Regions from separate parts of the Homo sapiens genome. Here regions 2 and 3 are each linked to region 1. Evidence: promoter capture Hi-C in 16 types of primary human blood cells and fetal thymus (Javierre and others, 2016). All regions are on one chromosome and are shown on one strand. The core of a region is centred on a gene start or on the middle of the fragment in contact, and the rest is flanking DNA. Distances in the headings are between cores, read along the strand shown. Region 1 holds the start of FTL (ferritin light chain). Region 2 overlaps LOC105372431 (a long non-coding RNA gene). Region 3 holds the start of FAM83E (family with sequence similarity 83 member E).

Evidence for each region. The method cuts DNA at HindIII sites, captures the fragments that hold promoters and counts their contacts. A CHiCAGO score of 5 or more calls a contact.
Region 2: a contact is called between a fragment that was not itself captured here and the fragment with the promoter of FTL in region 1, in 3 of 17 cell types (endothelial precursors, erythroblasts and M0 macrophages). The highest score is 8.1, in endothelial precursors.
Region 3: a contact is called between a fragment that was not itself captured here and the fragment with the promoter of FTL in region 1, in 1 of 17 cell types (endothelial precursors). The highest score is 5.6, in endothelial precursors.

Annotation. Positions count from the first base shown.
Region 1 is chr19:48,962,677-48,967,340 of GRCh38, reverse strand. It overlaps FTL (ferritin light chain), which reads right to left and starts at 2,032. Exons shown (of 4, transcript NM_000146.4): 1 at 1,732-2,032; 2 at 1,425-1,571; 3 at 935-1,060; 4 at 462-758. The coding sequence starts at 1,833. The coding sequence ends at 606. RefSeq lists enhancers at 1,743-1,792, 3,342-3,451, a silencer at 2,043-2,202 and cis regulatory regions at 3,133-3,633, 4,573-4,664. The HindIII fragment of the contact is 1,823 bases long and covers 716-2,538 here.
Region 2 is chr19:48,672,855-48,677,160 of GRCh38, reverse strand. It overlaps LOC105372431 (a long non-coding RNA gene), which reads left to right. Exons shown (of 3, transcript XR_936016.3): 1 at 1-134; 2 at 1,530-1,920; 3 at 3,374-4,015. NTN5 (netrin 5) reads left to right here and starts at 4,144. Exons shown (of 7, transcript NM_145807.4): 1 at 4,144-4,229. It also overlaps the pseudogene SEC1P. RefSeq lists a silencer at 1,516-1,665 and enhancers at 1,291-1,938, 1,939-2,587. The HindIII fragment of the contact is 466 bases long and covers 2,121-2,586 here.
Region 3 is chr19:48,614,390-48,617,654 of GRCh38, reverse strand. FAM83E (family with sequence similarity 83 member E) reads left to right here and starts at 2,579. Exons shown (of 7, transcript NM_017708.4): 1 at 2,579-2,718; 2 at 2,816-2,947; 3 at 3,028-3,265. RPL18 (ribosomal protein L18) reads left to right here. Exons shown (of 7, transcript NM_000979.4): 3 at 232-339; 4 at 831-929; 5 at 1,453-1,576; 6 at 1,709-1,778; 7 at 2,208-2,324. The coding sequence ends at 2,283. RefSeq lists enhancers at 669-1,499, 1,500-2,331, 2,836-2,895, 2,926-3,025, 2,332-3,163 and 1 more. The HindIII fragment of the contact is 962 bases long and covers 1,129-2,090 here.

The sequences.
Region 1 (4,664 bases), core at 783-3,282:
CAGATTCAAGCGATTCTCCTACCTCAACCTCCTGACTAGCTGGGATTACAGGTATGAGCCACCACACCCAGCTAATTTTGTATTTTAGTAGAGACGGGGTTTCTTCATGTTGGTCAGGCTGGTCTCGAACTCCTGACATCAGGTGAGCGACCCACCTGGCCCCATAATCACTCGTTAAATAGGGCTGTTTCTGGCTGAGACCTAACATCTGTTTCTAGATACCAACCTAGGTCTTAATTCAACTCCCTGGAGTCTATCTCTACCATCTGGGAGGGACAGTTAACAGCCAGGCAAGCAGAGAACCCTCAGGTTCAACACTACCCAGATAGCCTCTTGTCTTAGGACAGTTAAGAAAATGGGAGATGGGGCCAACTCCTCTTTCACTGGCATCCCAACCCAGCCAGAAGCTTTATGAGAACAGATCCCACCTCATCTTCCACACCACACACAAAACCACCAGCTGCATCAAAAAGCTTTATTTCCATTTGGTCCAAGGCTTGTTAGGATAGTTAAGAAAGCTGCCTATTGGCTGGAGGGAGAGGCTTAGGCAGAAGCCCTATTACTTTGCAAGGGGCCCTTCAGAAGTCGCTGGGCTCAGAAGGCTCTTAGTCGTGCTTGAGAGTGAGCCTTTCGAAGAGATACTCGCCCAGCCCAGCCTCCGGGCCACCCAGCCTGTGGAGGTTGGTCAGGTGGTCACCCATCTTCTTGATAAGCTTCACTTCCTCATCTAGGAAGTGAGTCTCCAGGAAGTCACAGAGCTGAGAGAGAAGAGGGAGAAATTAGAAACCCAATCCCTGGAAAAGAGGGGGAGAGAGCAGCCAGTTGCAGATTAAAATGTGACAGGTGTGAAATGAGGCTCTGAAGGAAATTTGCCCAAAGGGAGCAGAGGCTTGAGGGGTATGGTTGGGTAGCCATGGATGCAGCGGGTACGTACATGGGGGTCCGTGCGGGCAGAACCCAGGGCATGAAGATCCAAAAGGGCCTGGTTCAGCTTTTTCTCCAGGGCCATGGCAGCTTTCATGGCGTCTGGGGTTTTACCCCACTCATCTTCAGCTGGCTTCTATATAGAAGGGAGAAATGGCTCAGAATACACACACTCGGCACATAGAACTAAACCTACATTTCCCAAGAGTCGTTGGGGGTCAGAGGCCCAGGCCACAAAGACATGTGACAGCTTGTATTTATCACTCTCCGCACCCTGTCCTAGCTCTTACAGCTATACGTCCCTAAGACCACGCAGCGGTGTGGACTGCCGCGTGTTGTGGGCACTGCACGAGGTGCGCCTCTATTTCCAGCGGTTAAGAGGGCTCACAAGACCGAACTCAATCTCCCAGAAGCCCACGCGACACCTACGCCCTCAAATCAAGGCTCCTCGCGCGCACGGCCTGCTGGGAGATGTAGTCCATTACCCACACACTAGTTACCTTGATGTCCTGGAAGAGAGCGCGGCCGCCACGCTGGTTTTGCATCTTCAGGAGACGCTCGTAGCCCTCGCGCTTCTCCTCGGCCAATTCGCGGAAGAAGTGGCTCACGCCTTCCAGAGCCACATCATCGCGGTCGAAATAGAAGCCCTACGGGAAGAGATGGAGGCAACAATGGTTAGCGGGAGGCGAGGCCAAGGGGACTCCGCCCTCTGTTTACCCGACCGCACAAAGAAGGCTGGCGCGTGCAGTGAGGGCCGGAGGTGCGCAGCTGGAGGAAATTAGGGCCAGGGGCGTCCTGGGGACTCACCAGAGAGAGGTAGGTGTAGGAGGCCTGCAGGTACAAATTGACCAGGCTGTTGACGGCTGCCTCCACGTCGGTGGAATAATTCTGACGAATCTGGGAGCTCATGGTTGGTTGGCAAGAAGGAGCTAACCACAAAAACGGTGCTGGCAGGTCCCAGAAGCAGGAGATGGCCGAGAAGATGGTCCCGGAGGTTGCAAGCGGAGAGGAAATCGGAGGGCGGTCGGAGGCTGGAAGAGAGTCCCCGGATCTGTTCCGTCCAAACACTGTTGAAGCAAGAGACAGACCCGCGGGACCGCCGAACTGCGAGGGGACGTGGCTAGGGCGGCTTCTTTTATGGTGCGCCGGCCCTCGGAGGCAGGGCGCTCGGGGAGGGCTAGCGGCCAATCTGCGGTGGCAGGAGGCGGGGCCGAAGGCCGTGCCTGACCAATCCGGAGCACATAGGAGTCTCAGCCCCCCGCCCCAAAGCAAGGGGAAGTCACGCGCCTGTAGCGCCAGCGTGTTGTGAAATGGGGGCTTGGGGGGGTTGGGGCCCTGGGGCTGATTCTGGAAATGCAGGGGTTCGTGGGCGGGAGGGTGGGGGCTGGGGTCCCTCTGGGAGGCTAGAGTTTTATGGGAGCACTAACAGCCCTGTGAACTGATGACCCTGGGGTCCTGGGGTGCCTCGGGAAAGTAAGATTCTGGGGTTTCCGAGGGCATGGATTTTTCTGGAACCTTGAGTGGGGGGAGGGGCACCTCAAAGGTGCAGGGAGGACCTGTAGTTGCCTGAGGTTTGCGCTGCGAGATAAGGAGTCTCCGGATCCTTGGGAAGCTTGGAAGGCTGTGAGGTGTTATTTCTGGACCCCTGGAGATCTCTGGAAGATGGAGTGTTGCGGGGACTGGAGTCCTGGGATTTACAGGGGTGGGGGTTCACGATGCAAACTCTCTATATTTTGGAGCCCTCCCCGGGGAAATCTTTAGGTTCTTGAGGTGCTCTGCAAGTTGGAAAGGGCAGTTATTCTGGAGCCGTGGGTTTCACCCAGTGCGGGAAGCCCAGGAGGAGCATTGTATGAGGTAGGGTGACTTCTGGAACCCTGGACAGCCCTCTGGAACCCTCCAAAGATGGGCTGGGACTTTGGGGATACCTTGGAGCTCTTTCAGGGGCCCAGGCTTTTTCTGGGAGTGGAAATGGGGAGGAATGAAAAGTCTGTTTTGAGCTTTGCGGTGTCTCTGGGATTGCATTTCCTGGAGGCTGTTTTGGAGACAACTCACAGACTTCGAGAATTCTCCGTGGCCCTGAACAGTGTCTCTGAAGTTGCCCTCGTGTCTTGCCTGACGTGTGCTCCTTCAGGCCCACAAAGAGAAGCCCTGCGTTGTGGACAAACAGTCTGGGGACCTATGGACGAGACGTCTGTCTTCGACTAATGCATATTTTTTAAGTGGGCCTGGTCCACGTTGATTTCTGGGAGACGGAGTCGGCGCAAACCTTGACTCTACTTAAGTGCCCTGATGGAGGCAGCCCGTGCGCTGGGCAGGGAGCTGAAGCCACTGGGGTGTGGGGTGAGGTCAGGCCCTGCCCTACAGAGGAGCTGCTCCGAACAGCCCAGGCGGGGCAGCCCCTGACCGAGGGGATCTGCAGATGCCCCGCCAGGCCGGTATCTGGGGTCCTTGTTGCAGGCAGCGACTGCTGAGTCATGCTGAGCTCAGCGCGGGAAGGGGCCCCCGCGGGGACGGATGGGGGTGGGGCCACTCGCTGACCTCATCCCCTTGGCACTCCCCGACTTTTTTGGTGGGACCCTCAGAACTAGACCTGGCTCAGACCCAAATCGGGCCCCCTACCCCAAGGTCCCCCCTTGTTGGAAGCCGGCTGTGTGCTTTGTCTCCGTGTCTTTTTGGTTCCCATAATTTTTTTTTTTCTGGGATCCTGCCTGTGGCCATATTGTCCCCTCACTCTGGGTGGTGGCTCAGTGTACACTCATTGATCCTCTGCCCCTCTCTCTCCCCTGACTTGGGGTCTCTGGGAAGAGTCCATGGAGGAGGGGCAGCCGTCCAAAGCACCCCGTTGACTGTGGGGCCCGAGTTACTCATTTACCAAATGTCATACCTCAGCCCAGAGACCTTTAGTCGGCCGAGAGGGGCCTTGGGGCCCATAGGTGGAGGGAGAGGAGGGGCTGAGAGAGACAGGATCTGAAGACCATAGAGAACGTGGGGTGGGGAGACAGAGGCCCAGAGAAAAAGAGACTCAGACAGAGACCCTGAGAGAGAGGGGGACAGAGACCCAGAGAGAGGGGAAAACAGACCCGGAGACAGAGGGGTACAGAGACCCTGAGAGAGAGGGGAGGGGGACAGACCTAGAGAGAGGAGGGCAGAGACCCAGAGGGAGGGGAAAAGAGACCCAGAGAGAGGGGGGGACAGAGGTGGGGGGGGACAGAGGCAGGGAGGTACAGAGACCCAGGGGTGGGGGGGATAGAGACCCAGAGGGACCCGGCGGGAGGGGACAGAAATCCAGAGTGGGGGACAGAGATCCAGAGAGAGGTGGGGACAGAGATCCAGAGAAGGGGGTACAGAGACCCAGAGAGAGGGGGGACAGGGACTCAGAGAGAAGGGGACAGAGACTAGGGAGGACTGAGACCTGGGGGGGCGGGGACAGGGACCCGGGGGCGGGGGACAGAGACCGGGGAGAGGGAAAGAGACCCAGAGAGAGGGGAGGTACAGAGACCCAAGAGAGAGTGACAGCCAGAGAGAGGACAGAGACCCAGAGAGAGGGAGACAGAAACTCAGGGTCGGGGGACAGACCCAGAGAGAGATGGGGGGCCAGAGATCCAGAGGGGGGGACAGAGACCCAGAGAGAGGGGGCCAGAGGTCTGGGTGCCAGGGGTGGAAAGAGGCCCAGAGAAAGAGGGCCAAAGGTGGGGTGGGAACAGAGGCTCGGAAAGCAAAGACCCAGAGCATGGGGACAG
Region 2 (4,306 bases), core at 1,104-3,603, 290 kb after region 1:
TCTTTTTTTGAGACGGTGTCTCACTCTGTCGCTCAGGCTGGAGTGCAATGGCGCAATCTCGGCTCACTGCAACTTCTACCTCCTGGGTTTCAGTGATTCTCCTGCGTCAGCCTCCCGAGTAGCTGGGACTACAGGTAGGACTACAGGTACAGCCACCACGCCCAGATAATTGCCTCACTCCTTTCAAGACTGAAAGTCCCATTGTCCAGGTAGACCACAATGTATTCACTCATCAGGTGATAGGCACTGGAGTTGTTTCCAGTTTTCGGCTGTTGCAAATAGTGCTGCCACGAACCTGTGTGCTGGGTCACAGGGTGAACTCTACGTTGAATCGTTTTGGGAGCTGCCAGGTGGCTGCCCCAGTTTCCGTTTCCACCAGCAGTACGGGAAGGCCCCATTTCCCAGCCTCGCTCGCCGTCGTGTTTGGTTGTGGTGGGTGTGCAGGGCCATCTCACCGTGGGGCCCACACCTATTCACCTCCAGGTCCAGCCCTGACCACTGGGCCTGACTGGGCTCCAAGGACCTCGGTCCCGGTCCTCGCCGTGGGATGGATGGTCCCTTCTCCGGGGGCTGCTCTTTCCGAGTCTCCTCCAGCTCTCCCCAGGGCTCCCAGAAGGTCCTCTGCTCCCAGCCTCTACCATGTCCTGATCGGCTTTCTCTTCTCCCCTTGTCCACTCCTCTGACCAATGTCCTATGGTTTCCCTGTGGCCACTCCAATGGCTACAGCTCAGCAGTCATCCCTTCACCCCCTCCCTCCCACCCCATTCCTGCTGAAGCCCTGGTTGGCATGGGCTCACCCCTAAAACTTCTGGCTTCTGCCTCACCCCTCCCGGCTCCCCATCTCTCCCTCCGCCTGTCCTCTTAAACATCGGGGGCCTACAGGCCTCTTCAACTGTCATCCTCCTCTATTCCAGGGCTCCTCATTTGGTTCATCTGGCCCTTCTGAGAAGCCTGAACAATCTGGGGCCCTCCAGGCCTCTTCAGCTGTCATCCTCCTCTATTCCAGGGCTCCTCATTTGGTTCATCTGACCCTTCTGAGAAGCCTGAACACTCTGGGGCCCTCCTTGAAAGTCTCGTGTGGGTCCCCAGCAAGGCCAGCTGGCCTAAGGCCTAAGAAAAATGCTCCTGGTGCTGCTTTAGTTTGCAAAAAGTGAATTAAATCTGCCCAAGCCTTTTTTCACTGAGCTGGTGAAAACTGTGTCCCAAACATGATCTTGCCATCCACTCAACTCAGGGTCCTGCCCCACGGAGAAGGAGCTGAGCTCTGAGCCCAGCTGGAGCCCCCAGGCAGGTCCCAAGGCTAGAGCTGGGGTCAGTGGGGGTGCAGGGCAGGGACAGGAGCCTGGGTCACTGGCCAAGGGAAACCAGCTCAGGACAAGGGTGCCCCCCGCGGGGTCCGCCTTCATTTTGTGTGACTCGTGCAGTTGCGCTGAGACAGGCCCCACGCTTGCTTTAATGATCTGGTGTTGCCGTCTTAAAATCCTTCATAAATTCTAAACAAGGGGTCCTGTGTCTGCATTTTCCCCCAGGCCCTGCAGATCAAGCAGTGGGTACCGCGGCTGCTCTGGCTTCTCCTGGAATCTCAGGTGCTCCCTCTTGTGGCTGTTCTCAGCCTAGACAACCAGAAAGCCGCAGAAAAGCACCAGCCAAGGCCGAGGCTGCGAGGGTGCTGGCGGGCAGGCCCATCACGGGGCTGGCTGTCCTGGTCCGCGATTCCTTGTCAGCCATTTTCCTCAGGGGGAGCGGCAAACGCCAACCTGGACTGAACTCATCTGGGGACAACCCTGGCTTGGAGGAGGGTCATGTGGCTATTTGCAGACTTTACTTCTCTTACTGTGAACACCCATGTGCTCTGCTGCCTAAAACATAACATGTTTGACAATGTGATGCGGCCCAGACCTACCATGGATGCCATGTCACGTACGTACTATGCATCCGACAACAGGGCCAGGAAGCAGAAGGTTCCGGAACACGACTTTCCCAGAGAGCTCAGATAAGAACCCGTGGGCATGTCAGCTCATTCAGTCCTCATGACCCCCTCCGCCCACCATGAGGAAGGTCCATTCTTTCTTCCTCATTTAACAGATGAGGAAATGAAGGCACAGAGAGGTTAAGAAGCTTGTTCTCGGTCACACAGCTAGGACAGAGGTGGATTTGAACCCAGGCAGTATGGCTGGGGTTACCATCCTGGCCTTTTTGAACATGTCCGGGAGGGCAGGCCCTACCCAGCCACACAATGCCCAGTAACTCCTGCGGGTGACCTGCCCTGCCTCGTGGAGACTCCGTTATATCTGGGCCACCAAGGCAGGGGTTAGAGGTCTGTGTGAGCCCAGCACTGAGGTTCTCTCTGGGTTGAACCCACCTCAGAGATGTGCCTTGGGCAGGCCTGGCCTTCTGTAGAAGCTGTGAGGGTGAAGGTCTCCAGCCCTTAAAGAACTCTCCCCAACAAAAAAAACAGTCTCCTTCCCAGCTTGGGGCACTATGTGCTCGGCTGTGGCAGCTCCGTCTGTTCTTCCCCGCCTGCCCCCGGGCACCCGCAGGGGCGCCCATCAACTCAGGCAGCTCAAGCTGCAAGGAACAAAAGCTTCCCTCCAGGAGCCGGAGCTTGAGACTTCGCCCAGGTGGGGAGGAAGACGCAGCGAGACCTAAGCCTTCTTCCTCAGTTTTGTGTGGCAGCAAAGCTGGGTTCTGTGCTGGCGGTGGGCTCAGCACAAATGCCCCTCCGCATCACCCCACTTACATCTGCAATCCCCGGGCCCCCGTGGCCGCCCCCCCCACTTGCTTTGCTCCAAGGCACTTGGCACCTTCCAACAACCTAGAGCACAGAAGGACCTGCGCTGCTGGGGTCTCCCCCTCCCTCTCTGGACACTGAGCCTGATGGGGCAGGGGTCTGTGTTCCCAGCGCGAACCCCCGGCAAAGTCCCATACAGGGGGAGCTCAGGCAGGGTCAGCGGAGGGACCTGCGCCTGAATCCCGAAGTTCCACTCTGACTCACACAGCCTGGGCCCCCAGCTCTGACATGCCCCCTCTGATGGGGGGCGTCTCAGCCCCATTCCATCCTCCTGCAGCTGATGCACCTCCCAGCTTTCGGAGTGACTCCCTTCTTTCAAATCCGATGTCCCTGTCCTGCTCCTGCCAAATCTGGCCCCCTCCAACGTGGTACCTAAGGGTCCAGAGTCGAGGGTCGCCTTTGCTGTGCCCTCGCACCCCCTGGGGGCGGGCCTGGGGCAGTGGGTCCCAAGCCTGTCAGGATTGGGCCCACGCTACACCACGATAAACGCTGGGGCCACCCAGGGCAGCAGGTGCCGCGCCCCAACTCCATGAGGCCCTTGCTTTTCTCAGCGGGAAGTGACAGAAAACATTATTTTTCTAGTCAACCCATTCGGAGATGGAATAGAACAGACAGCAACATTCGCATGAAAATGTCACGATGAAAGCACTGAGGACTCGCAGGACACCAGCGGCACTGGGGAGGTGCTTTTGAGCTTGGTCCCCCGCACCCCGGGGGTCCCCGCCTTCTCCCTCTGCCGCATGAGAAACACTGGGGCCCAGGTGTTCTCAGCTCATTTGTCGCCTTCCCCACCATCTTAGAAAGCGACTGAGGTCTTTTGAATTCCAGGGGCTGGTCTGAACCTTCCAAGAGCACAGATTTTACTGACCTTAAGGCTCGGTGAACCCACAGCTGACAAAAGGTTCCAGAGAGGAGGAGGAGGGGCTGGCTTGGGGTCACGCAGCCAGAGGCAGGGGCTGAGCAAAGTTTCCAACAGCGATTGTCTCCCAAAGGTCAGCCCCTGCCCGATCGCGATGGCGGCCACCACAAGGCGGGGCTGAGCCAGTGGGCAGGGGTGGAGTGGGATGGAGCGGGACCCCCGACTGACAGCCTCCCGTCCTACCTGCGGTGAGCCTCCTAGGCCAGGCTGCTCGGGGCTGTCCTGCTGCTGGACCGCCGGGGGCAACGGCACTCACGTCCCACACCGTTGCGGGTGGCCTGGCTGGCAGGGGTCCCTGTGGGGATAGCGTGGCTGCGGTTGGTGAGGGATTGGGGTGGGAGGGGGGTGGCGGTGTTAGATTCTGCGGGCTCTGCTCTGAGCCCCCGCCCAGCCCAGAAACCCCACTAGCCTGGGGCCTGAGAACAGCCACGCCACTCCCTCCTGAGAGCCCACCGCGCCACAGCTTGGAGGAAGAGCCTGCGGGGAACTGGCTGCAGGACGCTCTCTTCTTGAGTGCAGGTTTGGCCAATGTCGGGGCCTCAGGGCTCGGGTTGGGGGGTGCATGCCAAGAGCCAGGGAAAGGAAGCCTGGGTCCC
Region 3 (3,265 bases), core at 360-2,859, 350 kb after region 1:
CCTGCATTTGTATTTTCAGCCTCTAGGCTGTGTACAGCTCGGGAGTGGAGCCAGGATTTTCTAGGTCCTTGGCCAGGAAGGACCTGGGCCAGCTTTCTCCCTCTAGGTCGGTGGGTTGGGGGAAAGGGATAAAGATTATTTTAGTCCAGATCATCATGTGTTTGCCCCTTCACTGGAAGGCTGCGGGGGAGCAGGCTGTCCCAGCTTCTCACTGTCTTCCCGTCCCTCCAGTTATACAGGTTTCTGGCCAGAAGAACCAACTCCACATTCAACCAGGTTGTGTTGAAGAGGTTGTTTATGAGTCGCACCAACCGGCCGCCTCTGTCCCTTTCCCGGATGGTGAGTGGCTGGTCCAGAGAGCACGGTAGACCTGGGAGCCGCTGGGTCTTGTCTGTCTGGAAGGGAGGCAGGACTTGGAGCTCTGGGAGCAACCAGGGCATCAAGGGTTTGTCTCAGCCAGTCGCGAGCGTAGAGCTTGGACTGTTGGTTGGAACTGAGTGTCCATGGGCAGTGGGCAAGTCTCCTGGTCCTCCTCTCCTTCTCTTTGTGAGGTGGAGGTGTCCTGGTGGCTTCAGGAGATTGCCCCAAGTCATAACTGAGTTTTATGTCAAAGGCTCTGCTGAGGGAGGCCCTATTGAACAGTCTGCATTTTTTTTTTTATCTGGAGCTTTCCCCAGCTGGACCTGAGGAGAGGCCTGTGGGGTTTAAGGGGTGTGGTGTGAGTGGGGGGTCCCGTTAGAGGGCACAGCTGCCCTGGCCTGGGGATGCCTCAAGCGGGGCTGAATGTAAACACCAGAACAACTTACGACGTACATCCTCCCCACCCTAAGATCCGGAAGATGAAGCTTCCTGGCCGGGAAAACAAGACGGCCGTGGTTGTGGGGACCATAACTGATGATGTGCGGGTTCAGGAGGTACCCAAACTGAAGGTGAGCTGGCGGGGGCTGGGCAGACCCATCAGACCCTTGCTGTACTGTGCTGTGCTGTGCTGTGCTGTGCTGTGCTGTGCTGGTCCATCCTCAGTCTTGCCACCGCTGGTGAGGCAAGCATCCTGCCTGTCTGAGTGGCTTTGAGGATTGGTGTGGGTCGTCTCTGGCATGGTTGATGGTGGGGTCCCCTGGGCAAGCTTCTTCTGGGGCAAGTTGTAAACTGTTAGTGCTGGCCCCTAGAGCCAGACAGCCTGGGCTCAAGTCTAGACTCCTTTGTCACCTCTGCACAGGTCTTTTTTTGGCCCAGCTTCCTTGCTGTAGTTTCTAGCATAACACCAGGGATGTGGTGGTGAAAGTTCCGGAAGTGTTGAGAACTGCTGCTGTCAGCCCAGGGTGCTCCGGGTAGTAAACGATAGTGTTGGTTACCAGGGCTCTGCTGCGCCAAGGCAGTGGAGGGTGAGTCCTGGCAGCCCCTGGGTGACCACGCAGGGGTCTGACCCGCCAGCCTTGTCCTCTCCACCAGGTATGTGCACTGCGCGTGACCAGCCGGGCCCGCAGCCGCATCCTCAGGGCAGGGGGCAAGATCCTCACTTTCGACCAGCTGGCCCTGGACTCCCCTAAGGGCTGTGGCACTGTCCTGCTCTCCGGTGAGTGATACGTGGTCGACGGGTTTGGACTGAGCTGTGTGGCTACTGGCAGCCTTCACCCTCCTGGATCTGGGAGGCCAGAAGCTGGGCGCCAGATCCCTGTCTCACCCGGTTCTCCTTCCCCTTCCCTAGGTCCTCGCAAGGGCCGAGAGGTGTACCGGCATTTCGGCAAGGCCCCAGGAACCCCGCACAGCCACACCAAGTGAGTATCAGGCCCCCAGCCCTGCCCTCTCCCCAGACTCAGCCTGCAGGGCCAGGCCTGGCCACACTTGGGCTGCTTCTCCTATCCCTCGTACCAGCCAGCCCCAGGCCTTCTGGAACTCTCAGCTGCCTCATCCTGCCTGCTTTTCCCTTCAACACTGCTTGGAGCTGTGTTTTCCAGGGCCTGAGCAGGCATCTCCTGGGGAGCATGCAGTTCACCGGCCTTTGCCAGCCCAGGCTGGGACCCTCCAGGTGGTGGGGCAGGTGCTTCCATAGCCCCTCCTGGCTCCTTGGCTTCCCACTCTGCCAAGCTTTTCCAGCAGCATTGACTCTCCTGGGGCTGAATGTGACAGGCTTGTGGTGTTCCTGTGCCACTCCACAATGGCCTCCTTTAAGAGGGCCCCCCTCTCACTCCCTCCTCTCCCCACAGACCCTACGTCCGCTCCAAGGGCCGGAAGTTCGAGCGTGCCAGAGGCCGACGGGCCAGCCGAGGCTACAAAAACTAACCCTGGATCCTACTCTCTTATTAAAAAGATTTTTGCTGACAGTGCTCTGTGTGTGTTATTGGGGGATGGGTTGGAGAATTGGTTCCTGCGGGTGAGAATGCATTTGGTTTGGGGACAGGGACGTCATGCCAGTGAAGACCAGCCCTCTTCCTGCCCCCACTGCCCCGGAAGCTCCCTGCCTCCTTCCCAACAGCCAGGTGGCAGGTGTTCCCACACCGGCTTCCTTGGGTCAGCCACGCCCGCCCCTCTTAAAGGATCCTGTGCCCCTCCCTGGTGCTGGGATGGCGGGTGGGGCGTGGACCGGGAAGTGCAGGGTGCAGGCTGGCAGGGCTGTGGGGAGGGAGAGACTGCCTGGGAACAGGTGAGGCAATCTCAACCCCCCGGGGACCGGGAAGCCTGAGTCTAGAGGGGCGTTCACCCCCTGGGAGAGCACAGGTAAAGAAAGCGTGTGAGCCGCACCCCCGGACCTCCTCCAGGGGCCTGTGGGGGCCCTCCTGTGTTTACACAAGGGGCCGGGCTCCCTGGATTCCAGGTCGAGGCCTGATGAGTGAGGCCAGAAGCCGGGAAGCACCGCAGAAGTAGAAGCCGGGGAGCCACAGCCTACGTTCTCGGAAAAAGCAGGCACTGGAAGGGAGGCCATTGAGCCCGGCACTAGCCGGTGTGGGTGAGCCCCGGCGATGGGGGGGATGGGTGAGGGTGGGGCGGGGAGGCTGGCCTGCCTTGACTCCTTTCTTCTCTTTGCAGCTCCCTGCTGTGGTCTGGAGGAAGCAGCGGCCTGGGTTGGTGGGATTGGAATGAAGGGCTTCTGGTTTGCAGGGATCAAGGGTCCAGGGTCCCCGAGGTTGGGTCAGGAGCCTCAAGGGGATAACTGAGGCTTGGGAGGGAGACAGGGCGAGATAGAGACTGGCCCCTGTCCGGGAAGAAGCGTCCGGGTAGCTGGCAGGAGATAGCATTTAGGCAGAAACCAGGCTGGGGGCAGCTT